5 separate regions of the Homo sapiens genome follow, and regions 1, 2, 3 and 4 are each linked to region 5. Evidence: promoter capture Hi-C in 16 types of primary human blood cells and fetal thymus (Javierre and others, 2016). All regions are on one chromosome and are shown on one strand. Each heading gives the region's core, a stretch centred on a gene start or on the middle of the fragment in contact. The rest is flanking DNA. Distances are from core to core; before and after follow the strand shown.

Region 1 (5,293 bases), core at 190-2,689, 1.3 Mb before region 5:
GTGCTGTAACACAGGCAGGTTGTATTATTATTATTTTTTTTCTTTTAAATCAATGTCTCGCTCTGTCGCCCGGCTGGAGTGCAGTGTGCAGTGGCTCACTGCAGCCTCAAACTCCTGGGCTCAAGCAATCCTCCCGCCTCACCTCACCCTCCTGAGTAGCTGGGACTACAGGTGCCTGCCACCATGCCTGGCCAGGATGCATGATCCCCCCTACATGTATCTATGTCTTTGTGTGGCATTCTGAGTCTGTGTCCGATACTGTCCTTCCGTCTGGGTGTGACATTCACCATGCTTGTCCATGTGTATGTAGCATCTATTGTGTGAATTTAACATCTTGTGACACTGTGTCCAAACATGTCACCACATTTGACATTCTCTAGGTGAGTCTTGCAATGTGATAACATGTGATTTTGCGTGGTTCTGTCTCTGCAAGATCCCTACATCTGTTTATCCTGATGTCAGTGTGACATAGTATGTGAGATACCTAGATATGACATCGTGTGTTGTGACATTCTTGGATGCATGGATGGGATATTGAAACACATGTTTGCATCTTGGATGACATAACTGTGTGTGTGTGGATCGCCATGTAAGTGACATCTTACTAGGTGTACACGACGTGGTGCCCCTGTGTGTCTGTGCATGGTTCTGACCTGTGGCAGCTGCAAGGCTAGGTATGTGTGGCACCTCCCAGTGTATCTGGGCCACTAGGGCTGTTGTGTGTATGTGTGTGACATCATGTCCTGTGTGACGCTGTGTGTCACTATTTTCAGTGTAAGGCTGTGTTCGGGGGGGGGGGTTGTGTTATGATAAACCCCCCCTTTTTTCTACCCCTCAGCATCCAGCTCCCGAAGAGGGAGCCCCAAGCCCCTCCGTCCGTCCCCTCACCCACAGCCGCAGTGACTGAGCATATTAGCGCGTCCAGGAGCACGCGGCATGGGGGTGGGGGGAGGCCAGGCTGCGGCTATTGTTCTGAGGGTGCCAAGCCCCCCAGCCTCCCCTTCTTCCTCTACCCCCACCAGGCTGTTGGAGCCCGCAGCGCCAGCAGACAAAGGCGCCACAAACCCCCAGTGGCGCAGCCCCCTCCCCCCGCGGCCGTCCTCTCCAGCGTGCAAGCCCCCCAGACTCGGCCCACACCACCCCCCATTCAACCCCAACCCCGGCGGGAAGGCGCAGCTGGGGCACCTCTGGCGCAGCTGGACCGGGCGCAGCATCCCGGGCCCCGCCCTGCAGCAGTACCCGGAGCGGCGGCTTTTGCGGGGAGGGCCGGGACAATGTCTAGGGGATCGGGGGTCTACCTCTTGGTGCGGCGGAACATACTGCCGCCGGGGAAGGAGGGCATCGAGAAATTAGAAAGCGCGGTCCAGAGAGAGTCAGACATGACCCGGCGGCGGCGACATGGTGGCAGGTGCGGCAGCAGCGGCGGAGGCGGCGGCGGCGGCGGCGCGGGGAGCAAGCGCGCGGGGCGGAGGCTGCAGCCGCCGCAGCGGGCAGGGGAGGGCAGGGAAGGGGAGGGCCCTGCGGCTGCAGCCGGCCGGGAGGGGGCGCTGCTGCGTGCCGGCGAGCCAGGCCCCGCCCGCGCACTCGCCTGGCGCCCCCACCCCGGCGGGAGAAGGGGCGGCCAGCCCCCGCCACGTCTCTCCCCAGGCTCACCTGCTGCTTTTCCGGGGCAGGGGCAAATCCTTCTGGAAGGCAAAGGGGCAAAACGATGAAGGTCAGCGTGGACCTGCCGTTGCTGCCCACAAGCATTATCAACTCCCTGGAGGAGCAGAAGCAGGGTAAGACAGGCCCCTCTTCAGCACTGTCACTTTCACCCTTGGCCATGCACTGCGGGCCAAGTTTCTTGGGGGAGAGGATCCCTGGGTGATTCCTCTCCTGACCCTCAGAGACCAACAGAGGCCCACGTACACAGGCGGGGCGCCATATAAAGGCAAGTGAGTTGGCATATCAGCGTGTGTTTGTGCAAATGAAATAGGAATCATTATTTGAAAAATATGTCTTGAGCACCTACTGTATGCTGACCCAATCCTAGGCACTAGGGACACAGTAGTGAATAAATTACAAGTCCGGTGTGGTGGTGTGCACCTCTAGTCCCAGCTACTTGGGAGGTTGAGGCAGGAGAATCGCTTGAGTCCAAGGAAACACCAGCGTGGGCAACACAGCAAGACTCTCTGTCTCAAGGAGAAAAAAAAAAAAGTTTCTGGCCTTTTGGGACTAGTATTTATAGGGTAAAGGGGACATTAAACAAGATTAGTGTAGAAGTGAACGAAATCATTTTAGACAATAATTAGTCTTATGAATAAATTAAACAGGGTGATGTGATGGACAATGGCTAGGATGGAGACACATTGTCAGACAGGGCTGCTCTGTGGAGGTGACTTTTAAGCTGGTTGCTGAAAGATAAGAGCCAGCCATGGGAGGATCTGTGGAGAGAGCATTCCAGGTGGAGGGAACTGCAAGGGCAAAGGCCTGGAGGCGGGAATAAGCTTAGCGTACTCAATGAATGAATGAAAGGTTGAATGAATGAAAGGTTGAAAGAATGAATGACTCATCTACACCTCAGCAGATCTATCTGACTCCCAGCTAGAGTCATAGAGTTGGGGTAGGGGGTGGGGGGTAGGTAAGTAGAGTGACTCACAACTGAGATTTAAAATGGGAACCACGGAGGCTGAGGTGGGAGAATCTCTTGAGCTCAGGAGGTCGAGGTTATAGTGAACTATGATTGCACCACTGCTGGAGTAAGACACCCTCTCAATTAACAATAAATAAATAAATAATAAAAAGTTTAAAAAATAAAAAAATAAAAATGGAAATTCAGGTGATGGCCGCATAGTCATTTTTTATAATGACAATAATAATAATTAGTGAGTATTAACTTTATGTGTCTGCATTTGAAGAAGGTCACCTTCCATTTGTCAAGCTCTTAGGAAGTCACTGTAGGGATCAGGAGATATGGGGTCTTGGCTTTTTTCTGAGGAAAGGAATGGGGTACAAGGGGCAACACCTGCCAGCCAGTTTTCTATCCACAGGGTGAGGTGGAAGGAAGGAAACTGAGTGGGGCTGCAGGTGGAAAGATTTGGGGGAGAGTTTCAAAAGGCCTTTGGAGGGGACTCCAACAAAAGGAAAATGAGGGATGTCCTAGACATTTCTAGGATCTCTAAAAGCAAAAAGCCTAGGTTCAAATCTCAATTCTGCTTTTTATGACCTTGGCAAATGACCTTCCAATAGTCCCGTGTCTCCTTGAGGATCTTAGGAGTTGATGCAGATGCCTAGCCCCTTAGCATGGTGCCTAGCACATAGCAAGTGCTCAATAAATACTAAGTCTGGAGAACAGGCGTTATTAAGGAGGGACATGCTGCATGACAGAGGATGGGCCACAGCGTCCTCCCACCCCGTTGTACAACGGACAAACATATAGGCGGGGCCAAAGGGCAGCCCTGCCCTCCCGAGCCACGGGTGACCGATAATCCAAACCAGGTTTTCCCTCTGTCTTTGCATGACCGGAGTGAATGAGGACCAGTCGACCTGGCTGCGTGTCTGCAATGGCCCAAGCGAAATCAAGACCTGGATTTTCTGGCCACAGAGCCCAGGGTGTCCAGATCCGGGTAACCGGCCTTGGAGGGTAAGCCCCTGGAGGGCTTTTAAGCACCACCCGAAGAAGACCTGGAACCCAGCCCCACCCGCTAGCGCCCCCAAACATTCTAGGGACGAAGAAAGGGTCAAACTGGAGCGGCGGAAGTTCGGGTCTTTGGCGTCAGTGTAAACAGACGCCACCTCCAATCTCAGCTGCAGAGCCGCTCGGCCAAGTGGATTCCGCTTCTCCCGCACAGGATTAATAGTTGACACTGCAGACAGGGCATTCGAACTCAGGATGCTGTCTACATATAAGATCCCAGGGCGTGGTGGCTCACGCCTGTAATTCCAGCGCTTTGGGAGGCCGAGGCGGGTGGATCACCTGAGGTCAGAAGTTCAAGACCAGGCTGGCCAACATGGTGAAACCCACTCTCTACTAAAAATACAAAACTAGCCGGGCATGTTGGCATGAGCCTGTAATCCCAGCTACTAGCGAGGCTGAGGCAGAAGAATCTCTTAAACCCGGGAGGCGGAGGTTGCAGTGAGCCGAGATTGCGTCACTGCACTCCAGCCTGGGCAACAGAGCGAGACTCCGTTTCAAAAAAAAAAAAAAAAAAAAGAGCCTAGCTGCACACAGGGGACCCTCGGGCGCTCAGCAGTGATGCGACAGTTCCTAAGAGGATGCACCAACGTATGTGGGTGTATCCAGGCAGCGAAGTGGTTAATCCCGCCAGAAGGGAAGCGGTGGGGACAGGACTCCGACAGGGATCGCCGGACCCAGAGCAAGCCTGGGGTTGAGTGGGTGGGTGGGTGAGTGGAAGCATTCCGCGTTGGGGGCGGTGTCTCGAGCGGGAGTTTAAAGTCCCGCGTGGCGCTGAGCCAATGAGAGTTGACGCCGGCCTGGAGGGCGGGGACACACCGTGCAGGCCCCGCCTCTTTCCTCCCTTTTCTCAGAAACCCGACGGCGCGGACCCAACCTGGCTGCTGCAGTACTTGCTCTAACTTTGCCGCAGCTGCCTCCCTTCTCTCGGAACCCACTCTCCTAACCCACCCCCGAGAGGCGGAGAGAATGTGGGAGCACTTCAGAGAGGCCTAGGCTCCGGAGATCGGGCCATCTGGGCTCTGAAAGCAAATTAGTTTTCCAACTCATGTCTGGCTCCGGCGTTACCCAGACGCCTGGAAGGTCCTTCCTGCAGTCTGATCACCATTTTTCCTGCTGCACTGACCAATCAGCTCCCCTTGGCCTTCAACCTCGGGAATGATGGATTAGGGGAGTCTAGAAATGGACGAAGCCCTAGGTGAGGGTTTGAATCCTCTTTTCCCAAGATTCAGGCTGGGGATGGAGCCTGAGTCTGGGCCCATTCTCGGCTTTATCTAAACTCCAGATTACCAAGCCTGGGGCTGAGCCCCAAGGAGGCTCAGAAGGGCCAGACCCCAGGCAGGGCCTTGGGGCACAGATATCATCACCTTCCCCTCTGGGATGTTTGGGACCGGACCTCCGTATTAACCCTGAACTTCCGTACTAACCCCTCAGAAACGCAGCTGAAGACGAGCAGAGGACGCTTCTCGGCTACAGAATCCCTCCCCACCTTGGAGGTAGGAGCTCCTGACACCTGAGTTTGTCCCCGCCTTCCCCACACTCCACAGCGATCCTCAGTGTCCCACTCCGTGCAGTGGACGCACGGCTCCTGCGCCTGCGCAGCCTCGAGACCAGCATCTT
Region 2 (5,705 bases), core at 1,158-3,657, 1.3 Mb before region 5:
CTGGTCCTCAGGTCCCTCCTCAGCAGGGTCTACCTTGCTATAATTCCTTTCTTTCTTCTTCTTTTTGTGGAGATGGAGTCTCGCTATGTTGCCCAGGCTGGTCTGGAACTCCTAGCCTCAACCAATTTGCTCACCTCAGCTTCCCAAAGTGCTGGGATTACAGGCGTGAGCCACCATACCCAGCATACAATTCCTACGTCAAGGTTATTTTGCCTTGTTATTCTCTCAGAACGGTCCATTCTTTCATTGAGAGCATTCGAGGCAATGCTGATTTATGTTTTTCTCTGGTAATTTAATGTAATTCTGCCCCACTCGACTGTGAATTTTCCTGATTTAATTTCCACTGTGATCGGAAAACTAAATGTCGAGATGTGCATTTCAAAAAGACTACCTTCTGTTGCTGCTTGGGGAACAGATTGGAGGGGATAGGAGGGTGAGGGACGAGAGACGACACTCAGCAGGTGTCCAGGGAGTGGGGGGTGTCCTGGGCTAGGACAGAGGTGACAGGTAGACAATGTAGGATTTGTTCTGGAGACTGAGCCTTTAGGATGAGGGAGAGATTAGATGGAGACGGGACTAGGGGCTACACTGTGGTCGTCAGTGTGGCACACATTTAGGGCAGAAACAGGAGCACGAAATCAACAGTAGCAATGAATATGCCCGAGGCACTCCAGACGTATCTGATGCTGAATCTGCACACTGCACATTTTTGCCCACATTTATTTTTTATTTTATTTTTATTTTTATTTTTCGCTCTGTCCCCCAGGCTGGAGTGCAATGGCGCGATCTCACCTCACTGCAACCTCCGCCTCCCGGGTTCGAGCAATTCTTCTGCCTCGGCCTCACCAATAGGTGGGATTACAGGCACCCGCCACCATGCTGGGCTAATTTTTTGTATTTTCAGTAGAGATGAGGTTTCACCATGTTGGCCAGGATGGTCTTCAACTCCTGACCTCAGGTGATCTGCCTGCCTCAGCCTCCTGAAACGCTGGGATTACAGCCGTGAGCCACTGCGCCTGGTCTCCCATTTTTAGTTTATTTTTTATTTTTTATTTTTTTGAGACAGGGTCTTGCTCTGTTGCCCGGGTTGGAGTGCAATGGCACAATCTTGGCTCACTGCAACTTCTGCCTCCTGGGTTCAAGCGATTCTCCTGTCTCAGCCTCCTGAGTAGCTAGGATTACAGGCGCCTGCCACCACGTCCAGCTAATTTTTGTATTTTTAGTAGAGACGGGGTTTCACCATGTTGGTCAGGCTGGTCTCGAACTCTTGACCTCCGGTGATCTACCCGCCGCGGCTTCCCAAAGTGCTGCGATTATAGGCGTGAGCCACTGCGCCCTGCCTCCATTTTTGAGTTGGGGGGCTTCCTTTGTCACCCAGGATGGAGTGCTGTGGCATGATCATGGCTCACTGCAGTCTCGAACTCCTGTTTTGTCCCCATTTTATCCTGAGATGACCAAATGGGGACAACTTACAGTTAACTCACCTGGGTGACGTTCACGCCCTGGTCCAATGCATACTGTATAAGCCCAGTGGCTGTATCATGTGACAGGGAGTTCAGGTTGTATTTGACCCTGTGGTGGGGAACAGAGCCCAGTTAATCTCATTCTAGGAACAAAGCTTGGTCAGCCCATGCTGGCTGCCCCTCCCGGGGACCCCTCACCGCCCAAGCATGCTGGTAGAGATGAGGTTTGGAGACAGCACATCCAGCGCCCAGCCGACAAAGTCCGTGTCCTCCATTTTCGCAAACAGCCTTTCCCGCTCGCTCTCCAATAGGGTCTTTGAGTCTGGGAGGAGGTTTGGAAGAGAAGGGGAACAGCTGGTTCTCCCAGTTCCTGCCCTCCCCTTTCAGTTCTCACCTGCCCCTGCACATACCCAGGAATCCCTTCCCCAGACGCACACCTCGGGCTCACCTGCCACTTTCAGCGCCTCCAGATCTGCCAGGCGAGGCAGGGGACAATAACAGATGGCGTAGACCATGGGGCCTGGGGAGAAGGGGTGTCAGTTTTCTGGCAGCCGGGGTCCAATCACTGAGCCCGTGAAAGTTGCCATTCATCCCTGTTCTATCATCACTGCTTCTTTAGGTGCCATCACCACGACCACATCCCCTCCCTTGGTGCAGTGCAATCCCGACTCCCGTTTCCCGCATCCTCCGTACCACGCCCCTCCCCTCCCTGGCCCTAGGGGCGCACCCAGCACGGGGCCCCTGCCCGCCTCATCGACGCCCAGGACGCAAGGCTCCTTGCGGCACACCGCGGGCACAGGCGAACTCAGGCGACAGCGGCCTGTATTGTCTCTCTCCAGCTCGCTGAGATCCATGCCGCCTCAGCCGCCACCACCAGCTGCAAGAACTAATACTGCAGGAGCGGGTCTCGGCGCGCGTTTTCCGCGGGCCTCGAAGCGGCGCCTGCTTCCGGCCAATCCGCGGGCAGAACACGCCCCTGGCGCTCCCGCCGCCGTGGACGCTTACGCAGCCGACGCCGACGTCGCTGCCGTGCGCCCTCCTGGGAATTGTAGTCCCGAAGGGCTATGGCCGAACACTCAGCTTGGGGAATTCGGTGGACGGGGTCACTTTGCAAGCTCTGCTTCACGGTCTCTGGGGCCCCGCCTGCGTGGCCCGGTGGGAAGAGGGGGAAATAAGAGGGAAACTGAGACGTAGCTTCGAAGACCCAGCCTAACGGGGAACTAGAGAGTCAAATATCACCCCACTCCCAGGACACGGGTCACCGCATCACTGGGTCCCCAACTGCCACTTGGATTCAGGCCCTGTACTTGCGGTCCCTGCTTCTGTACACATTCTAAGTCCCCTGGACCAGGTAGCCCCGCTTCCACTAAACCCAGGCTTTTGGATTTGGAGTCCCCAAACTCCCTCTCTTGGTTGCTCCCTTCGGCCCACCTCCACTCCGTGCAAGATCTGTGCTTCCTAACCTCTGTCTCATTCAGGCCAAGCCTTCCCCACCCCCGTTGGAGATCACAGACCTCGGTGGACTCCTGCTCAGGGTCTCTGCTCCCTATAGAAGCTCATTCCTCCCAACTTAGAATGAATGTCCCCACCCCCACCCCTCGACCCACTTTTTTTTTTTCTTTTTTTTTTTTTTGAGACAGAGTCTCGCTCTTGTCGCCCAGGCTGGAGTGCAATGGCGCCATCTCCGCTCACTGCAAGCTCCGCGTCCCGGGTTCACGCCATTCTCCTGCCTCAGTCTCCCGAATAGCTGGGACTACAGGCGCCCGCCACCACACCCGGCTAATTTTTTGTACTTTTTAGTAGAGATGGGGTTTCACCGTGTTAGCCAGGTTGGTCTCGATTTCCTGACCTTGTGATCCGCCCGCCTCGGCCTCCCAAAGTGTTGGGATTGCAGGCGTGAGCCACCGCACCCGGCCTTCTTTTTTTTTTAGACAGGGTCTCTCTCTGTTGTCCAGGCTGGAGTGCAGTGGCGCGATCTTGGCTCACTGCAACCTCCACCTCCTGGGCTGACGCGATCCTCCCACCTCAGTCTCCCAAGCAGCTGGACTACAGGTGCACACCACACCACCATGCCCGACTATTTTTGGTATTTTTTGTAGAGACGGGGTCTCATTATGTTGCCCAGGCTGGCTTCAAACTCCTGGGCTCAAGCGATCCGGTCGCCTCAGCCTCCCAAAGTGTTGGGATTACAAGCCTGAGCCAGCCACAGTGCCTGGCATCCACCACTTCTATTCCCTGGGCTCACTGGGGCTCATGTCCTCTGCCTGTGGGTTCCCGCCCCTTACCAGGCTCATGCCCCTTCCTCAGGGTCCTAGTTCATTGTCTCTTTATCTCCTTTTACTCCTCTTCGCCTCCCCCTCCACTTTTTTTTTTTTTTTTTTTTTTTTTTTTTTTTTGAGACAGGATGTTACTCTGTTGCCCAGGCTGGATAGCAGTGTAGCGATCTCGGCTTATTGTAACCTTTGCCTCCCAGGCTCAAGCGATCCTTCCTCCCCATCGTACCGAGTAGCTGGGACCACAGGCATGTGCCGCCACGCTCATCTAACTTAAATGTTTTTGTTTGTTTGTTTGTTTGGTTGGTTTTTTTTGAGACAGAGTCTCGCTCTGTCGCCCAGGCTGGAGTGCAGTGGCGCGATCTCGGCTCACTGCAGGCTCCGCCTCCCGGGTTCATGCCATTCTCCTGCCTCAGCCTCCCGAGTAGCTGGGACTACAGGCGCCCGCCACCGCGCCCAGCTAATTTTTTATATTTTTAGTAGAGACGGGGTTTCACCGTTTTAGCCAGGATGGTCTCGATCTCCTGACCTTGTGATCCGCCTGCCTTGGCCTCCCAAAGTGCTGGGATTGCGGGCGTGAGCCACCGCGCCCGGCCTAATTTTAAAAATTTTTATGGAGAGGTGATCTCAACGATATTGCCCAGACTAATCTTGAACTCCAGGACTCAAGAGATCCGCCTGCCTCGGCCTCCCAAAATGCTGGAATTACAGGCGTGAGCCCCGGCGCCCGGCGCCCCCTCCACTTTTCTCCTTTTCTCCCTAGATATCAGCGGGGCTCACGGCTCCTGACTCAGCTTCCCCCTAACCAAATCAGCCTCAAGTCACTCAAGACTTGGAGCCCCAGTTCTCCCTTCCTCAAACTCGCTTCATACCCGCCCCGCACCGCACATCCTCCCTCCGCGCCCACCCTGGGCCCCGCAACTTGCCCCGGCCCTGCTCTCTCACCCGGGCTCAGAGCCTCCAGTCGCAGTCGAAGGGCTTGCAGGATGGACAATCCCGTTGCCGGCAGGGCCGTAACTGGATCAGCTTCTCCGGGTCCATGAAAACCGGGCCCGGCGCTGTGCCCACTACCTCGCGGCTGCGCTCCTGCTTGCCCAGGTCGCAGAGACACCGCCACTTTCCCCACGGGCCAAGGATTGAGTCCTCGACTTCTAGAGAAGGAGGGCAGAGGTGAAGACCTACGTGGAGGGGGCCTACTCCCAATCCCCTCCCCCAGAGAGGGAGAAAGATAAAGATACTAACGAATAAGAGAAGCACATATTCGCTAGACTCTGCTTCTATGCCAGACACCCTGCCACAGATTATCTCATTTAAGCTTTTTTTTTTTTTTTTTTTTTTTTTTTGAGACAGGGTCTCGCTCTGTCGCCCAGGCTGGAGTGCAGTGGCGCAGTCACAGCTCACTGCAGCCTCAACCTCCTGGGCTCAAGCAATCCTCCTACCTCGGCCTACCAAGTAGCTGGGACTACAGGCACATGCCACTGTGCCTGGCTAATTTTTTGTATTTTTTGCAGAGACGGTGTTTCACCATGTTGCCCAGGCTGGTCTGGAACTCCTGGGCTCAAGTGATACTCCCATCTCAGCCTCCCAAAGTGCTGGGATTACAGGTGTGAGCCAGCCACCATGCCTGGCCTCATTTAATATTTCCACGAGTCTCAGGTGGGGAAACCAAGACCCAGAGACAGCAAGCCAACCTTCCAAGCTCATATACGGGGTAAGTGGGCCAGAGGAACTACAACCTGACACTTCCAGGCTGTGCCAGCCTGCCCAGTTGTGAGTGTCCTACAACATCCTTGGTGCCCGCCATTTGAAGCTGACTTCTGTCTTCAGGGGTGTGACCATGGCCCTACCTAGAAGGCACAATGCCACCTGACAGCAGGGTTGTCAAGTGATAAATGGCATAATTGACATAATGAAGGTAAGTAAATCTCCCGGTGCTGTGCTAGCATATACAAACCAATTTATTATGATC
Region 3 (5,239 bases), core at 173-2,672, 1.1 Mb before region 5:
GCCTGCTGCTGGGGGAGATGCTGTCCATGTTTCTAGGGGTATTCATTTGCTTTCTCGTTGAAACCTGTTGTTAATAAAGTTTTTCACTCTGGCTGTCAGCCTCTTCTGTTCAGTGGGGTGTTCCTCCTACCTGGCGGGAAGGGCTCTAGCCCCATAGGCCTGGTGTGGGGCCCCAGTCTGGAGGCTTCTGGCTGTTCATTTGCTTACTTCATAAACCTTGTGTCTTAAGTCAGGTGCTAGGGACAAGACAGTGACTTCTGCCCTCTGGCAACTCACCAGATGGCCCTGCTGACCTAGATAATCTAGGCTTTGGTTTCCTTTTTTTTTTTTCCTTTTTAAGAAAGAAAATGGTCTTGATCTGTCATGCAGGCTGAGTGCAGTGGCACAATCTATGTTCACTGCAGCCTCAAACTCCTGGGCTCAAGCAATCCTCCCACCTCAGCCTGCCACGTAACTGGGACCACAAATGCGTGCTACCATGCCCAGTTAATTCTTGTTTTTTTTGAGACAGAGTTTTGCTCTTGTTGCCCAGGCTGGAGGGCAATGGCATGATCTTGATCTCGGCTCACTGCAACCTCCGCCTCCCAGGTTCAAGTGATTCTCCTGCCTCAGTCTCCCAAGTAGCTGGGATTACAGGCATGTGCCACCATGCCCAGCTAATTTTTGTATTTTTACATTTTGTGTAAAATTACAAATTTTGTGTTTTCAAACCCGTCTCTACAAAACAACCCATGTTGCCCAGGCTGGTCTCAAACTCCCAGGCCCAAGTGATTCACCAGCCTGGCCCTCCCAAAGTGCTGGGATTGCAGGCTTGAGCCACTGCGCCTGCCCTGGGCTTTGTTTTCTTATCAGAGAATGAACTGGTAGGAATTGGGAAAGGCATGAAAGACTCGGGGTCCTTCCCCACTTGTCAGACCCTCTTTTCTCTCCGGAACACCCAGGGATCCTTCTCAACCAGGCTGGATCCCATCCCTGGTACTCCAGGGGTATTTACCCAACGTCCCAATCCCCACAGTATAGGACTCTTCATCAGATCCTCCTCTTAGGCAAGCTAGGTCCTTCCAGGACCCTAGCGCTGAAGGTCCATGGGACGGACACCCTGGATTCCCATGGACACACTACACCGGCTAGGAAAACCCGGCCCCCTTAGGAAAAGCACTTCTGCTCCTACCGGCATTAAGAGGCATTCCGTCTTGGAATTCCGGCATTAAGAGGCATTCCGTCTTCATAGCCCGTGAGACGCCAGTGTCACCTTTAGCCCAACCAGTGCCCTGAGGGTGGCATTTTCCTACCTTCCTGTAACGACCCCCGGGATTGCCCAGGGCTACAGCCTCTCTCCCGTGAGCCTCCAGACCGCGCCCTGGCCCCGCCCCCCACCCCGATTGGCCCGGCCGGGTCTGGGGGCGGGGCGTTTGCCCGGCCTTTCCAGGGCCGGGGAACCCCAGGAGGAAGCTGCTGAGCCATGGGCGCCTACGCGCGGGCTTCGGGGGTCTGCGCTCGCGGCTGCCTGGACTCAGCAGGCCCCTGGACCATGTCCCGCGCCCTGCGGCCACCGCTCCCGCCTCTCTGCTTTTTCCTTTTGTTGCTGGCGGCTGCCGGTGCTCGGGCCGGGGGATACGAGGTGAGTGGGGCCTCCGAGCTGAAACGTACAGGAGGCAGAGTGAAACCCAGAATACAGTCTAGAGGTGTGGGTGGGTCTGTCCTGTGGGTGTCTAGTGAATGGCTGATGATATGACAGTGTGGTCTGAGTGCGTGCTTTGTGTCATTGCGAGGTCTGGCTGTGCGCATCTGAGTATAGGACTGTGTCTGATTGTACCTGCCTCCGTGTCTCCGGGATGCTTGCCTAGACTTTGTCTGCACTTAACTGTGGGATTGGAGGGGCAGGAGGTGGCAGGGGGTGAGCAGTGTATGTGTGGGGGGAGGTGCTGGCTGAGAGCTGGGACTCTGGAGTCTGCCTGAAATTCCAGCCTAGCTCTTACACTTCCTGAGTGTGTGACGTTGGGCAAGTCACCTATCCTCTCTAAGCCTCAGTGCCTTCATCTGGAAACTGGGGATAACATCACCCCACCTCCCACGGTGGCCGTCTGCTGTCGGCAAATGCTGAACAAACATCAGCTACTTCTATTATTATTTTCCCGGAGTGTGAATGAGAGCTGCCCTGTGGGGTTGTGCAAAGTGGAGTTGTATCTATGAGCACAACTATGTATGTGTGTGTCCTGCCTGGGAGGGCCTGGCCTCCTCTGCACATAGGCGAGATCAGGCCTCTCTGAGTCACTCACCTCTAGATCAAGACTTACTCTGCAGCCCCCGACCTCGGGGGTTATTGACAAGGTATGTGTGTTTGGGGTCCCTGTGCAGACATGCCCCACAGTGCAGCCGAACATGCTGAACGTGCACCTGCTGCCTCACACACATGATGACGTGGGCTGGCTCAAAACCGTGGACCAGTACTTTTATGGAAGTGAGTAGAGGATGGGGACTGGTCCCTGGGATCCCCATGGTCCCTGTAATCCCTCTGGGTCCTGGACATTAGGGTGGGGCCAGTGCTACCCTAATATCCAGGGTTTGGGCTCCTCTGTCTAGGAATAACCCCCTTGGCTCTGCTGTTCCCTGAGAGCCTTATCCCTGTTATCCACAGTCAAGAATGACATCCAGCACGCCGGTGTGCAGTACATCCTGGACTCGGTCATCTCTGCCTTGCTGGCAGATCCCACCCGTCGCTTCATTTACGTGGAGATTGCCTTCTTCTCCCGTTGGTGGCACCAGCAGACAAATGCCACACAGGAAGTCGTGCGAGACCTTGTGCGCCAGGGTGAGCCTACCCCAAGGAAGTGAAAAGAGGAAGCCCAGCCCAGCTTCTGCTTCTGCATCTCTGGTTTCTGAGATTTGTCATGCCACGTGCAAGCTGTATAACATGCGTGTCGCTCCGCCTGCCTGGACTCTCCATTTGGAGACCTCCTATACATCCCACAAAGCCCCACCTGCTGTGCATCCTCTGGGAAGCCTGCCATGCAGGGGGCCTCTTTCCCATATCTGGGAACTATGGCCTGGGAGCGACCCCTCTTGTCCTTCCGCCAGAAATGTGTACACAGGCAGGCTTTCACATTCCCAGTATCACCCACCCTACTCCCACTCCTGGCTCTGACCGCTGACCCTGACCTTGCCTGTCCTGGCACAGGGCGCCTGGAGTTCGCCAATGGTGGCTGGGTGATGAACGATGAGGCAGCCACCCACTACGGTGCCATCGTGGACCAGATGACACTTGGGCTGCGCTTTCTGGAGGACACATTTGGCAATGATGGGCGACCCCGTGTGGCCTGGCACATTGACCCCTTCGGCCACTCTCGGGAGCAGGCCTCGCTGTTTGCGCAGGTGCGACCCGGGACCTCTCTTGGGCCCACTTCTTCACTCACTCTGGCTCCTCCCTCGCCCAGTCAAACCCCGCCCTCTCCCTGCAATCTCACAAGGACCAGGCCCAGGCCTAGGCCTGTTGAAGCCCTGCCCCTTGAGTGAGCCGTAAAGCCAGTGGCTTTTGAGCTCTGGCCTCAGCCGGCTATGCCCAGCCCAGGCTGACCCAGCTCCGGCTGGCTCCGCCCTCTCCCCTAATAGGCCCCTCTTGGTGTTCTGGCCCCACCCACTAGCTCGGGTCCTGGCTCCTCCCTAAACCGGGTGGCAAGTGGATGCCTAGGCTGCCTTAAAAACAGGTTCATTACCTGTGCTCAGACCCCATCCATCCTCAGGCTGTGGAAGGGGGAACCTCATTCCTGGAGTCAGGCCTGCTCTGCGCTTTGACAGTGCTGGGGAGGTGAACCTGGGTTCTGATGTTGGACCCGCCCTCTCCCTGCTAGCCCAAGGTGGTGAGTTCTGAAACTTCCCCAAGCTTGGAAATAAGCTGGAGGCCTCTCTGTTTCAGCCCTACGTGTTTTTGTTTTTGTTTTTTGAGACAGGGTCTTGCTGTCATCCAGGCTGGAGTGCAGTGGTGCAATCCTAACTCACTATAGCCTCAATCTCCCGGATTCAAGCGATTCTCCTGTCTCAGCCCCCCTAGTAGATGAGACTACAAGAGCGCACCACTACGCCTGGCTAATTTTTAAATTTTTTGTAGACAGTCTGCCCGTGTTGTGCAGGCTGGTCTCAAAAACTCCTGGGTTTAAGTGATCCTCCTGTTTTGGCCTCCCAGAAGGCTGGGATCATAGGCAAGAGCCACCACATCGACCTAGCACTGCTTTTTAACCTGTGCTCTGACCTGCCCCTCCCAAGCAGAGGGGAGTTTGGTGGTGAGAGGGCTGGGCACTAATTCACACTGCCTTTTCCTCCCTCATCCCCAGATGGGCTTCGACGGCTTCTTCTTTGGGCGCCTTGATTATCAAGATAAGTGGGTACGGATGCAGAAGCTGGAGATGGAGCAGGTGTGGCGGGCCAGCACCAGCCTGAAGCCCCCGACCGCGGACCTCTTCACTGGTAGGGGGCTTGGTGAGGGCAGGGCCAGCCATGGTGCCACACACTCAGAAGGGCCCTGGGCTTGATATCTGCTCTGTTGTCACTGTCCTGGAATTCCTATAGTCTGGGAACAAAGGCCCTGCATTTCCTTTTGCATTGGGACACAAATTCTGAAGCCCATCCTGGGTGGGACATGGCCGGCTTTGAAACCAGGGAAGGTCTGGGTGATGGGCCACCCCTTGAACTTGGTGTGACCTGCAGGTGTGCTTCCCAATGGTTACAACCCGCCAAGGAATCTGTGCTGGGATGTGCTGTGTGTCGATCAGCCGCTGGTGGAGGACCCTCGCAGCCCCGAGTACAACGCCAAGGAGCTGGTCGATTACTTCCTAAATGTGGCCACTGCCCAGGTAACCCTGGTGTCCAGAACCTTCGAGTCCGGTATATACAATACAATGAGCTCTTTCCATGGTACAGGCATCCCCTAACACGTTCTCCTTATTTTTAATTTTTTTGAGACAGTCTTACTCTGTCACCCAGGCTGGAGTGCAGTGGTGCGATCTCGGCTCACTGCAACCTCTGCCTCCTGGGTTCAAACAAGCACATCCAGCTAATTTTTGTATTTTTGCACTGGGGTCTCATCATGTTGTCCAGGCTGGTCTCAAACTCCTGAGCTCAAGTGATCTGCTTGCCTCGGCCTCCCAAAGTGCCGGGATTACAGGCATGAGCCACCGCACCTGGCCTCTATTTTTAACATTTTTATTTATTTATTATTATTTTTTTTTTTTTGAGACAGAGTCTT
Region 4 (5,351 bases), core at 2,318-4,817, 1.8 Mb after region 5:
ATATCAATGTTATACTTTCTTCATAAAAGGAATTAGGAAGTATTTCTTCATTTTCATTGTTCTTAAGTTATGGAGCACTGGGAATATTTGAACTTGGAAGGTTTGGTATAATTCTCCATTTAAAACATCTAAGCTCACATTTACAGTCTAATGATGGTTGACAAAGGTGTCAAAACAATTCAATGGGGAAAAATAGTATTTTAAATGAATGGGACATAGTCTTAAAAATGTCTGAAACAGGCTGGGCATGGTGGCTCACACCTGTATTCCCAGCAGTTTGGGAGGCTGAGGTGGGTGGATCACGAGGTCAAGAGACCGAGACCATCCTGACCAACACGGTGAAACCTCGTCTCTACTAAAAATACAAAAATTAGCTGGGCATGGTGGTGTGCACCTGTAGTCTCAGCTACTTGGGAGGCTGAGGCAGGAGAATCATTTGAACCCAGGAGGCGGAGGTTGCAGTGAGCCAAGATAGGCCACTGCACTCCAGCCTGGCAGCAGAGTGGAGACTCCATCTCAAAAAAGAAAAAAAAAAAGGACACTTGCACACACATGTTTACAGCCCACAATTTGCAACTGTAAAAATATGGAACCAGTCTCAATGCCCATCAACTAATAAGGGGATAACAAAAATGTGGTATATATACACCACAGAATACCACTCAGCTATAAAAAGCAAGAAAGTCATAGCATTCTGAGCAACCTGGATAGAGACTATTATTCTAAGTGAAGTAACTCAGGAATGGAAAACCATATATATGTTCTCACTTATAAGTGGGAACTAAGCTATGAGGATGCAAAGGCATAAGAATGATATAATGAACTTTGGGTGGGCGCAGTGGCTCACGCCTGTTATCCCAGCACTTTGGGAGGCCGAAGTGGGTGGATCACTTGAGGCCAGCAGTTCAAGACCAGCCTGGCCAACGTGGGAAAACCCCATCTCTACTAAAAATACAAAAATTAGCCAAGCATGGTGGCGCATGTCTGTAATCTCACTTACTCAGGAGGCTGAGGCAAGAGAACTGCTTGAACCTGGGAGGCGGAGGTTGCCAAGATCATGTCACTACACTCCAGCCTGGGCAACAGAATGAGACTCCATCTCAAAAAGAAAAAACAAAACAAAACAAAAAAGGATAGAAAGAAAGAATGCACTTTGGGGACTCTGGGGGAAGGGTGGGAGAAGGGTGAGGGATAAAAGTGGATAAAAAACTACACATTGGGTACATTGTACACTGCTCGGATGATGGGTGCACCAAAATCCCAGAAATCACCACTAAAGAACTTATCCATGTAACCCAAAACCACCTGTTTCCCAAAGGCTATTGAAATAAAAAATAAATAAATAAATAAACCTTTTTCCATTTTGGTTTACATTTATATTCTTTTTCTAGGTTTTATTTTTTGAGCTGGGGATTTATTTTTTATTTTTTATTTTTTTGAGACAGTTGTGCTCAGTTGCCCAGGCTGAAGTGCCGTGGCGCCATCTCAGCTCACTGCAACCTCCGCCTCCCAGGTTCAAGTGATTCTCCTGCCTCAGCCTCCCGAGAAGCTGGGATTACAGGTGCGCACCACCACGCCCTGCTGGTTTTTGTATTTTTTAGTAGAGACCGTGTTTCACCATGTTGGCCAGGCTGGTCTTAAACTCCTGTCCTCAGGTGATCCGCCTGCCTCGGCCTCCCAAAATGCTGGGATTACAGGTGTGAGCCACTGCACCCAGCTATTCTTATTTTTATTGACAAAAGTGTTTAGGAATATGAATGTTCCTTTGACCACTGCTTAAAATGCGTCTTGTATTATCCAAAAAAGCCAAAAAAAAAAAAAAAAGAGAAAACCCAATATCCAACAACTGATGTTATGATACAGCCATACAATGGAATCTTATTTAGTAAAAAAAAATTAAGTACTGATACATGCTAATTGGATGAACCTTGAAAACATTGAATGAAACAAGCCAAACACCACGTGTTTTATATTCTAATTCTACAGGCAATATCTACAGTAGGCAATCTATACAGACAGAAAGATTAGCTGTTGCTTTGGACTCTGGGGGTGGGGGTGGGGCTGGATGAGCAGATTGGGTGATCATGGCTAGGGTACTGGGTTTATTTTTGTGGTCATGAAAATGTTCTAAAATTGATTGTGATGATCGATGCACAAATATATGAATATACAAAAAGCCACGAAACTGTACACTTTAAACAGGTTAATTGTATGCTATGATAATTGTATCACAACAAAACTAAAGGCCTAAAGAAGGAACTGAATGTATCAGAGGCACAGAGCATTTTATGGATTAACAGGTTAATCTTTTTTTTTTTTTTTTTGAGACGGAGTCTCACTCTGTCGCCCAGGCTGGAGTACTGTGGCATCGTATCAGCTCACTGCAACCTCAGTCTCCTAGGTTCAAGCAATTCTCCTGCCTCAGCCTCTCGAGTAGCTGGGATTACAGGCGCCCACCACCACACCCGGCTATTTTTTAAAAAATATTTTTAGTAGAGATGGGGTTTCGGCATGTTGGCCAGGCTGGTCTCGAACTCCTGAACTCACGTGTTCCACCCGCCTCGGCTTCCCAAAGTGCTGGGATTACAGGCGTGAGCCACTGCCCCCAGCCCCATCAGGTTAATCTTTCAAACAGGGTGTCGCTGGTCTCGAACTCCTGGGCTCAAGCGATTCTCCCGCAGTAGCTAGGACTACAGCGGGATTATCTTTGTAAATATGTTTATATCCCTGCAGAGGGTTGAAGAAACAAGGAGAAAATCCTGCAGAAAAGAATTTCCCTAGGGTGGTGGCTCACGCCTATAATCCCAGCACTTTGGGAGGCCAAGGTGGAAGGATCACTGGAGCCCAGGAGTTCCAGATCAGCCTGGGTAACAAAGAGAGACCCTGTCTCTACAAAAAAATAAAAATAAAATAAAAATAAATTAGCCAGGCGTGGTGGCACACACCTGTGGTCCAAGCTGCTTGGGAGGCCGAGGGGGGAGGATCCTTTAGGCTCAGGAGTTCGAGACCAGCCTAGGGAACACAGTGAGACCCAAGTGTCTAGAAAAAGATAACTTAGCTGGGCGTGATGGGCCCAACTGTGGTCCAAGCTACTCCGGAGGCCGAGGCGGGAGGATAGCTTCAGCGCAGGAATTCCAGGCTGCAATGATCTATGACCGAGCCACTGCACTCCAGCCTAGGCGACAGACCGGAGCCTTATCTCAAAAAACTAAAAAGAGAAATTAAAAAAGAAAAGAAAAGCACTCGATGAGCATCCCGCTGTCTGCAATCGAAGCCTTAGGTGACGCCTCCACGCGTGCCCCGCCCGCTGCGCCAGTCCCCGCCTCCAACCCGGCCCTTGGCGCTGGGTTTCCTGGTCCGGCGTCGTTCCCAATATCGACAGATTGATCTGGATCCTGGTCCACCTGGGATGCGAGAAAACGGGACTTTTCTGTACGCGTGTCGAAGAGGTGGCCCCAGCTCTTCTCTCAGCTTCACATCATCCTCATTCCAAAGCTCTTGGGGCTCGGCCCCTACACTTAATGCCGTGCGCAACCGGAAGCGGAAGTGCCAGCCGGCGCGCAGCTATACGTATTCCCCGCTCTCCAGCAGCTTCCTAGCTGGGTTTTCACCTCAGCCAGCGCTCATGCTCAACCTAGGCAGGGCGGGGCAGGAGGGCCTAGCGGGAGGCGGAGCGAGGGTCGGAGGGTGACGCTCCGGACTTCTGCTAGGTCTGAGACGCGCCGGCCTCCCGCTGCTGCTCCGGAGAAGCGGCGCCTCCTCCCCGCCAGGACCCCGAGGCGGGGGGTTCCCGCCTTCTCTTCTGAGCGCCTCTTCCCGCTGCGCCCGCATCAGTCTGGGCCTGGCCCAGGGTCCCCGGTGGAGACGTGTTTTTTTCTCCAACCACCGTGCCCCTCTGTTTAAAAGCAGCCAGTCAACCTTTGTGTCCTTTCTCCAGAAGGAAAAGCATCTCAGCTGTTGTGGAAAAGGGCCCCAGCGTCCTCTTGTCACCGACAGGGCGATTGCAGTGCGTTCCGGTGAGCCCTGGACGGAGGAGATGATCTGGCTGTGGGAGGGCATCGCTTATTGAAGTTTGCGAAATTGCTCAGCAGTTAAATGCTTTGTCAAGTGTGCAGGAGTTGTAGGTTTATAGAAATAAAAGCAAATATTGCCACAGTTATAAAGCAAAGTAGCAATACTCCGCTGTGTTTTTGAGATCAAAAGCAGCTGAACTTCCTAGGTCAGTACCTCCCAAAGAGCTTCAAAACGGAGGGGCTTCCAGGAAGTAGGATGCCGCCTTCATTATACCAGTATCAGAAATTACAGTTGTATTAACTGTGAAAGAGACATGTTTTGATTCAGCGTTTTTCCTCTCGTATATATACATATTTTGAGACGGAGTTTCGCTCTTATTGCCCAGGCTGGAGTGCAATGGCGTGATATAGGCTCACTGTAAACTCTGTCTCCCGGTCCAAGCGATTCTCCTGCCTCAGCATGCTGAGTAACTGGGATTACAGGCATGTGCCACCACGCCCGGCTAATTTTGCATTTTTAGTAGAGACGGGGTTTCACCATGTTGGTTGGGCTGGTCTCGAACTCCTGACCTCGTGATCCACCCTCCTCGGACTCCCAAAGTGCTGGAATTACAGGTATAAGCCACCGCGCCTGGCCTTCCCCCTCATATATTTTTATTTATTTATTTACGTTTTAAAGACAGGGTCTTGGTTTGTTGCCCAGGCTATCTGTAGATTGAATATTCTAAACCAAAGAAAATGTGAAAGGCCAGAATATTGAACACCTATTATATATCCTTGTTGTAGACTGATCATTTGTTAATATTTTGCATGTTTTCTGTTTCTTTGCATCTCTTGTGTAGATCAATGTGTATTGGCCGGGTGCGGTAACTTAAACACCTGTAATCCTGGCACTTTGGGAGGCCGAGGTGGGCGGTTCACCTGAGGTTGGGAGTTCCAGACCAGCCCGACCAACATGGAGAAACCCTGTCTCTACTAAAAATACAAAATTAGCCAGGTGTGGTGGGGCATGCCTGTAATCTTAGCTACTCGGGAGGCTGAGGCAGGAGAATCGCTTGAACCCGGGAGGCAGAGGTTGTGGTGAGCTGAGATCGTGGCAATGCACTACAGCCTGGGCAACAAGAGCAAAACACCGTCTAAATAAATAAATAAATAAATAAAACTAGGCCGGGCACAGTGGCTCACCCCTGTAATCCCAGCACTTTGGGAAGCAGAAGCAGGAGGAGCCACTGAAGCTATGAGTTTGAGACAAGCTGGGACAACATAGTGAGACCCCATCTCTACAAAAAAAAAAATAAATAAATAAAAGCATAACTAAAGTCAGTGACAATATCAAGT
Region 5 (5,286 bases), core at 2,242-4,741:
GGGCACCTGTAATCCCAGCTGCTCAGGAGGCTGAGACACAAGAATCACTTGAACCCGGAAAGCAGAGGTTGCAGTGAGCTGAGATCATGTCACTGCACTCCAGCCCGGGTGACAGAGGAAGACTCCATCTCAAAAAAAAGAAGAAGAAGAAGAAGGTCGGGCGAGGTGGCTCATGCCTGTAATCCCAGCAATTTGGGAGGCCGAGGCAGGTGGATCACTTGAGGTCAGGAGTTTGAGACCAGCCCGGTCAACATGGTGAAACACTGTCTCTACTAAAAAAAAAAAAAAAAAATACAAAAATTAGCCAGGCGTGGTGGCATGTGCCTGCAATCCCAGCACTTTGGGAGGCCAAGGCAGGTGGATCACTTGAAGTCAGGAGTTCAAGACCAGCCTAGTCAACATGGTGAAACTCCATCTCTACTGAAAAAAAAAAAAAAAAAACAAAAATTAACCGGGCATGGTGGCACGTGCCTGTAATCCCAGCACTTTGGGAGGCTGAGGTAGGTGGATCAATTGAGGTCAGGAGTTCGTAACCATCCTGGCCAACATGGTGAAACCCCATCTCTACTTTAAAAAAATACAAAAATTAGCCAGGCATGGTGGTGCGTGCCTGTAATCCCAGCTATTGGGGAGGCTGAGGCAGGAGAATCACTTAAACCCTGGAGGCGGAGGTTGCAGTGAGCCGAGATTGTGTCTCTGCACTGCAGCCTGGGCAACAGAACAAGACTGTATCTCAAAAAAACAAAAAGAAAACAGAAAGAAAACCAGGGCCTCCTTTAATTATTGCTGCACATCTCTCCTCACATCACCAAGCCAGCCATGAACAGCTGTTGGCTGCTGCCTTTTAGCTGTGACCGCTCTTTCTGGGGACTCTGGCGGCCACAGATGGGCCTACCCTATATAGCATGGTGGTTAAGATTCTAGAGTCATTTCCCTTGAAACCACGTGGGACTTGGTGCAATGCATTTCACCTGAGCCTCAGTTTTCTGTGCCTGTTAAATGGGCACAATGATTACTGGCCACCCCAAAGGTATCCAATAGAAAGTGTTCAACTCAGTTCCAGGATCATGGTTGTTTTGGGGGTTGAGGGGCTGCATGGAGTTGGGGGATGTTGCAGGGTCTCGGCTTCGAGAGCCTCACTCACTCGCAAAGAATGATGCCATCTTTGAGGCCGTCCATGAAGTTGTTGCCGATGCGACGGCCTGTCACCCCCTCGATCCACTCTCTCAGCTCCTGCTCCCGCTGGTGGTCATACTTCTGGGCCAGCTGGGGCGAGGGGAGGGCAGGGGGCACAGAGAAAGGGGTGAGGATGCATTGGGGGCAGCCTGGGCTCCCTGGGTCCTGTCTGAACTTCCTAGAGCCTGATCTCCCTCGTCCTTCCCAACTAAGGCAATTTTGCCCCAGATCCATAGTTGGGGGATGGGGGCTGGGGCGGGCTGAGAGCCAGGGCTGAGGTGGCACCTGCCCAGGGGGCCATTCCGGGCATTCTGAGGTTTGGCACCAGGGAATGTAGATGAGGGGTGGGGTGTGGGGAGCTGGATCCTCTGAGCTAGAGGGGTGGCACCCGGCACCCTGGTTTTTCGCCCAGGCCAAACTTGGGGCTTCTCTTCCTCTAGCCCTGCCCCCTCTGTGCCCCCTGTTGGAAGAGAGGGCACCTCAGGAAGGGAAGAAGGATGTCTAAGGAGGTGTCCCTGGGTGCTGGCTTGCAGAGGAGTGCTGGTCATACATCTCTGTCTCTCCGTGTCCCCCAGGTCTTCAGCTCCAGGGCTCTGTCTCTGGTTAGTGGTGGGGGCTTGTCTCTGTCTTAGCCCCCACCCCTTGCACGTCTGTATGTCTCTCTCCCTCTTATCCCCCCGACTCCTCTGTCTCTCTCTTCCCCAGCGCTGTCTTTTCTTGGCCCAGTCTTGGGTCCCCATCTCTCTAGGTGGCTAGTCCCTGTCTGGCCAGGGGTAGGGCTCCTGGGTCTTGTATATCTGCCTCTCTAGGTCTTTCTCTGTCTCCAGGTTTCCTGCCTGGGGTGGGGGTGGTGGGGCTCTGTCTCCTCTCCCTGCCCCTCCATCCTTGTCTAGGTCTTATCTCGCTCCTGGCTCGCCCTCCCCCGTCTGTCCCTAGGGTGTCTCAGGCTCCCAGTATCTCTGTCTGCCTCTCCCCCCACCTCCCTGCTTTTCCCTCTCTCCACTGTCCCCCCCCTCCCCCACTCCACTCCCATTTCTCCAGAACCCTCCGCCCAAGCCCAGCCAGGCTCCCAGCCCCTAGGGGACCGGGCTGCCTCTTCTTCTCCCGGGTGAGTGGGGGGAGGTGGGAGGGGCGGCCCCCTCACCTGGCCCTGGCCCTGCCGCCCCCCACGCCACCAGCCCGGCTTTATAAAGCAAACCGGCCCTTATATAGCGTGGCCCGGGCTCCCCGAGGCCGCCTTATAAGGCGCGGCGTCTCTGCGCGGCTCTGCGCGGCTCTGGGGCCGGCGCTGGGGGGGAGGAGGGCGGCGCTGGGATCTGTCTCTCGCCCGAGGACCCGCCCCCCACCAGCCCCCTCCTCCAGCCCCGAGATCCCTCGACCCAGGTTCCAACCCAGTCCCCCACTTCCTCACCATGGGACCCTGGGAAAAGCCACCCTGAGCCTCAGTGTTCCCCTCTGTCAAATGGGGCAGGAACTCCTCCCTCGGCAATACTGTTGGGGCGATTCCAGTGGGCTGGAAACTTAAAGTTCTCCAGCTGGGAGAAGCTGAGCCCATCCTGGTGTATGGGGGGTGAGTCCAGGGTCCGAGCGCTGTACCTGCTTTACCTGGGACCCCAGCTATTTGCCTCTCCTCTCCGAACCTCAGTTTACCCAACCATAGCATGAAGGTGGTGTCCAGGTATCTTCCTAGCTCCACAGTCAGGAGACCCCTGCCGCACTTCTGATGCCCGCTTCCTGCCTTTCACCGTCCCCCTCTGTCTTCAGGATCTCCCACACTTTCACGGCGTCACTTCCCAGGTACCCCAGCACTCAAGCGCTCCCCAATTTCTTTGTCAGGCCGGGGGATATGGAAAAATCAACAAGTCTTCCCCCTATGTTGTTCCCCCCAAGAACACGAAGGGTTAACAGAAGACTGATCAGGTGGGTATCTTTGCAATGGACTGACCCCCTCTGTTTATGTGTGGCTGTGTGCCCCCCCATTCCAGCCCCAACCATAGCTGGGGGCTCCGGGATGTTCAGGGGGAGACAGGCAGCCCCTATCCCATATCACTCCCTTTTCCCCTCTCAGTTTCCAAGTCACATAGGATAGGCAGGAGGGGGTTCAAGGGACCCCAAGCTCAGGGCTCTGGCCTGGCAGGACGTGTGGGCCAGGCCAGGGAGGCCCTCCAGCCCTACCTTGTTCTTAACCTCGGCTGACAGCCCGTAGGCAGGGCCTCGGTTGAAGTGAGCAGAGGACATGCTGGCCGGTGGGCTCTGGCGGGGGCAGTGGCGGCACTGACGCTGAGAACAGAGGCAGCGGCTGAAGTTCCGTCTGCACACTCTTCCCTCCTCACATGTTTTTGAAGCTCCGGAGGCGACCCGGGTCTCTTCCAGGGCCGTTCCATTGGCTGTAGGGGCCTGCCAAGGGGCGGGGCACCTCCCCCCACAACCTCAGCTGCCTTCCCCTCCCCTTGTGATGTCAGGCCCTTGGTATTGGGAGCTGATTGTGTCATTGTTTCCACCTAGGGGGGCAGCCTGCGTTATTCTGGGGGGGCTTGGTCAGACAGAGACCAGCCTTCTTCCACCCACCCCTCCCACTGTCCATTGGGCCTCTGGCTGGGTCTGAGTCTCTTTGTCTCTGAGGTCATCTCTCTTTATCTCTCTGGAGTCTTGAAGCAGGACTGACACCCAAGGTAGTTTAGTGAGCACCATCCCGGGTTTATCTCCAGATACCAACAGTCTATAGCCTTAGGTAAGCCCCTTCTCCTCTCTGGGCCTCTATGGCCACATCTGTAAAATGGGCTAACGATAGTGCCTGCCTCATGGGAGAGTTGTAAAGATCAGAAGAATATGCCTGTTACATGCCCAGCACAGTGCCCGGCACAGCAGAGGGACTCGGGCCATAGCAGTCTTTTTAAGGCAAGGTTTCACTCTGTCCCCTCGGCTGGAGTGCAGTGGCACAATCACAGCTCACTGCAGCCTTGACCTCCCAGGCTCAAGTGATCCTCCCATCTCAGCCCATCCAAGTAGTTAGAATTGCAGACTTGTGCCACCAACCTGGCTAATTTTATTTTATTTTTTTAGAGATGGGGTCTCGCTATGTTGCCCGGGGTCTCGCTATGTTGCCCAGGCTGGTCTCAAATTTCTGGGCTCAAGCAATCTGCCCGCCTTGGCCTCCCAAAACGCTGGGATTTACAGGCATGAGTCACCATGCCCAGCCTATAGCATTCTTTATGCTGAGGGTCCAGCACCCCAGTTCTGTCTCCTCCAGCCCCTCATAAGGACCTGGGGGAGAAGAGATCCTGGGTCTCACCCTCCCCATCCACTTGTGTGTCACCTGAACTACAGGGTGACTTTGTTGGCAAGTCCCAGGCCGTGAACTGTGTCCCTGTCAAACAGCCCTACCCAGCCAGATCTCACCCCTGGACCACAGGGGTGGATGCTATGCCCACATCATGCCCCACATGGCAAGGCCATGTTTGTGACACTTGGATGACATGTCTGCAACCTGCCACACACTAATGATATGTTGAGGATATGCAGTTTATCGGTCACATGCTAATGGCATGGCTGCAATATGCCACAGACTACAGCCCTTATGTCAGGCCATGTTCCAACTCTGTACATATATCCATTCAATTCTCATGACGCCCTCAGAGATGGACACTGTTATTATTATTATTATTATTATTATTATTATTATTTGGAGACAGAGTCTCTATTCCCCAGGCTGGAGTGCAGTGATGCTATCTCGGCTCACTGCAACCTCCACCTCCTGGGTTCAAGCGATTCTCCTGCCTCAGCCTCCCAAGTAGCTGGGATGACAGGTGTCTGCCACCACGACTGGCTATTTTTTGTATTTTTAGTAGAGACGGGGTTTTGCCATGTTAGCCAGGCTGGTCTCGAACTCCTGACCTCAGTTGATCTGCCCACCTCGGCCTTGCAAAGTGCTGGGATTACAGGCGTGAGCCACCGTGCCCAGCTGACACTGTTATTATTAATACAAGTACTTTGCTTTACAGGTGGGGAAACTGAGGCACGGGGGCTTGGAATCACTTTTTCAGCGTCACACAGCAGGCCAGGGGCAGAGGAGAATTTGAGACCATGCTCCATGAACCTCAACTATGAGGC

The links. Contacts are between HindIII fragments. The CHiCAGO score rates a contact against its expected background, and 5 or more counts as called.
Region 1: the fragment with the promoter of MAST1 here is called in contact with the fragment with the promoter of CNN1 in region 5 in 2 of 17 cell types (activated CD4 T cells and non-activated CD4 T cells); the score reaches 6.2 in activated CD4 T cells.
Region 2: the fragment with the promoter of RNASEH2A here is called in contact with the fragment with the promoter of CNN1 in region 5 in 2 of 17 cell types (non-activated CD4 T cells and fetal thymus); the score reaches 10.2 in non-activated CD4 T cells.
Region 3: a contact is called between the fragment with the promoter of MAN2B1 here and the fragment with the promoter of CNN1 in region 5, in 2 of 17 cell types (erythroblasts and monocytes). The highest score is 7.4, in erythroblasts.
Region 4: a contact is called between the fragment with the promoter of ZNF846 here and the fragment with the promoter of CNN1 in region 5, in 1 of 17 cell types (neutrophils). The highest score is 5.0, in neutrophils.

The regions. Positions count from the first base shown.
Region 1 is chr19:12,834,661-12,839,953 of GRCh38, reverse strand. It overlaps MAST1 (microtubule associated serine/threonine kinase 1), which reads right to left and starts at 1,439. Exons shown (of 26, transcript NM_014975.3): 1 at 1,299-1,439. The coding sequence starts at 1,381. It also overlaps a transcript of RTBDN not described here. RefSeq lists silencers at 1,359-1,408, 1,459-1,638, 1,643-1,826 and an enhancer at 4,888-5,293. The HindIII fragment of the contact is 9,607 bases long and covers 1-2,488 here.
Region 2 is chr19:12,803,286-12,808,990 of GRCh38, reverse strand. RNASEH2A (ribonuclease H2 subunit A) reads right to left here and starts at 2,407. Exons shown (of 8, transcript NM_006397.3): 1 at 2,191-2,407; 2 at 1,912-1,983; 3 at 1,662-1,785; 4 at 1,485-1,572. The coding sequence starts at 2,317. THSD8 (thrombospondin type 1 domain containing 8) reads right to left here. Exons shown (of 2, transcript NM_001386800.1): 2 at 4,602-4,887. The coding sequence ends at 4,688. RefSeq lists enhancers at 2,304-2,353, 2,554-2,683 and a cis regulatory region at 2,128-3,160. The HindIII fragment of the contact is 3,433 bases long and covers 1,621-5,053 here.
Region 3 is chr19:12,662,925-12,668,163 of GRCh38, reverse strand. MAN2B1 (mannosidase alpha class 2B member 1) reads left to right here and starts at 1,422. Exons shown (of 24, transcript NM_000528.4): 1 at 1,422-1,621; 2 at 2,359-2,461; 3 at 2,639-2,812; 4 at 3,179-3,372; 5 at 4,329-4,461; 6 at 4,702-4,847. The coding sequence starts at 1,463. WDR83 (WD repeat domain 83) reads right to left here and starts at 1,357. Exons shown (of 11, transcript NM_001099737.3): 1 at 1,172-1,357. It overlaps WDR83OS (WD repeat domain 83 opposite strand), which reads left to right. Exons shown (of 4, transcript NM_016145.4): 4 at 1-91. RefSeq lists a silencer at 1,280-1,559 and enhancers at 1,810-1,939, 1,960-2,089, 2,150-2,199, 2,740-2,789, 1,856-2,803 and 2 more. The HindIII fragment of the contact is 17,009 bases long and covers 1-3,882 here.
Region 4 is chr19:9,766,954-9,772,304 of GRCh38, reverse strand. ZNF846 (zinc finger protein 846) reads left to right here and starts at 3,567. Exons shown (of 6, transcript NM_001077624.3): 1 at 3,567-4,016. RefSeq lists enhancers at 3,283-3,502, 2,774-3,639 and a silencer at 3,583-3,752. The HindIII fragment of the contact is 9,482 bases long and covers 1-5,351 here.
Region 5 is chr19:11,537,056-11,542,341 of GRCh38, reverse strand. CNN1 (calponin 1) reads right to left here and starts at 3,491. Exons shown (of 7, transcript NM_001299.6): 1 at 3,352-3,491; 2 at 1,145-1,266. The coding sequence starts at 3,414. RefSeq lists enhancers at 682-801, 3,575-4,520 and a silencer at 2,466-2,515. The HindIII fragment of the contact is 23,519 bases long and covers 1-5,286 here.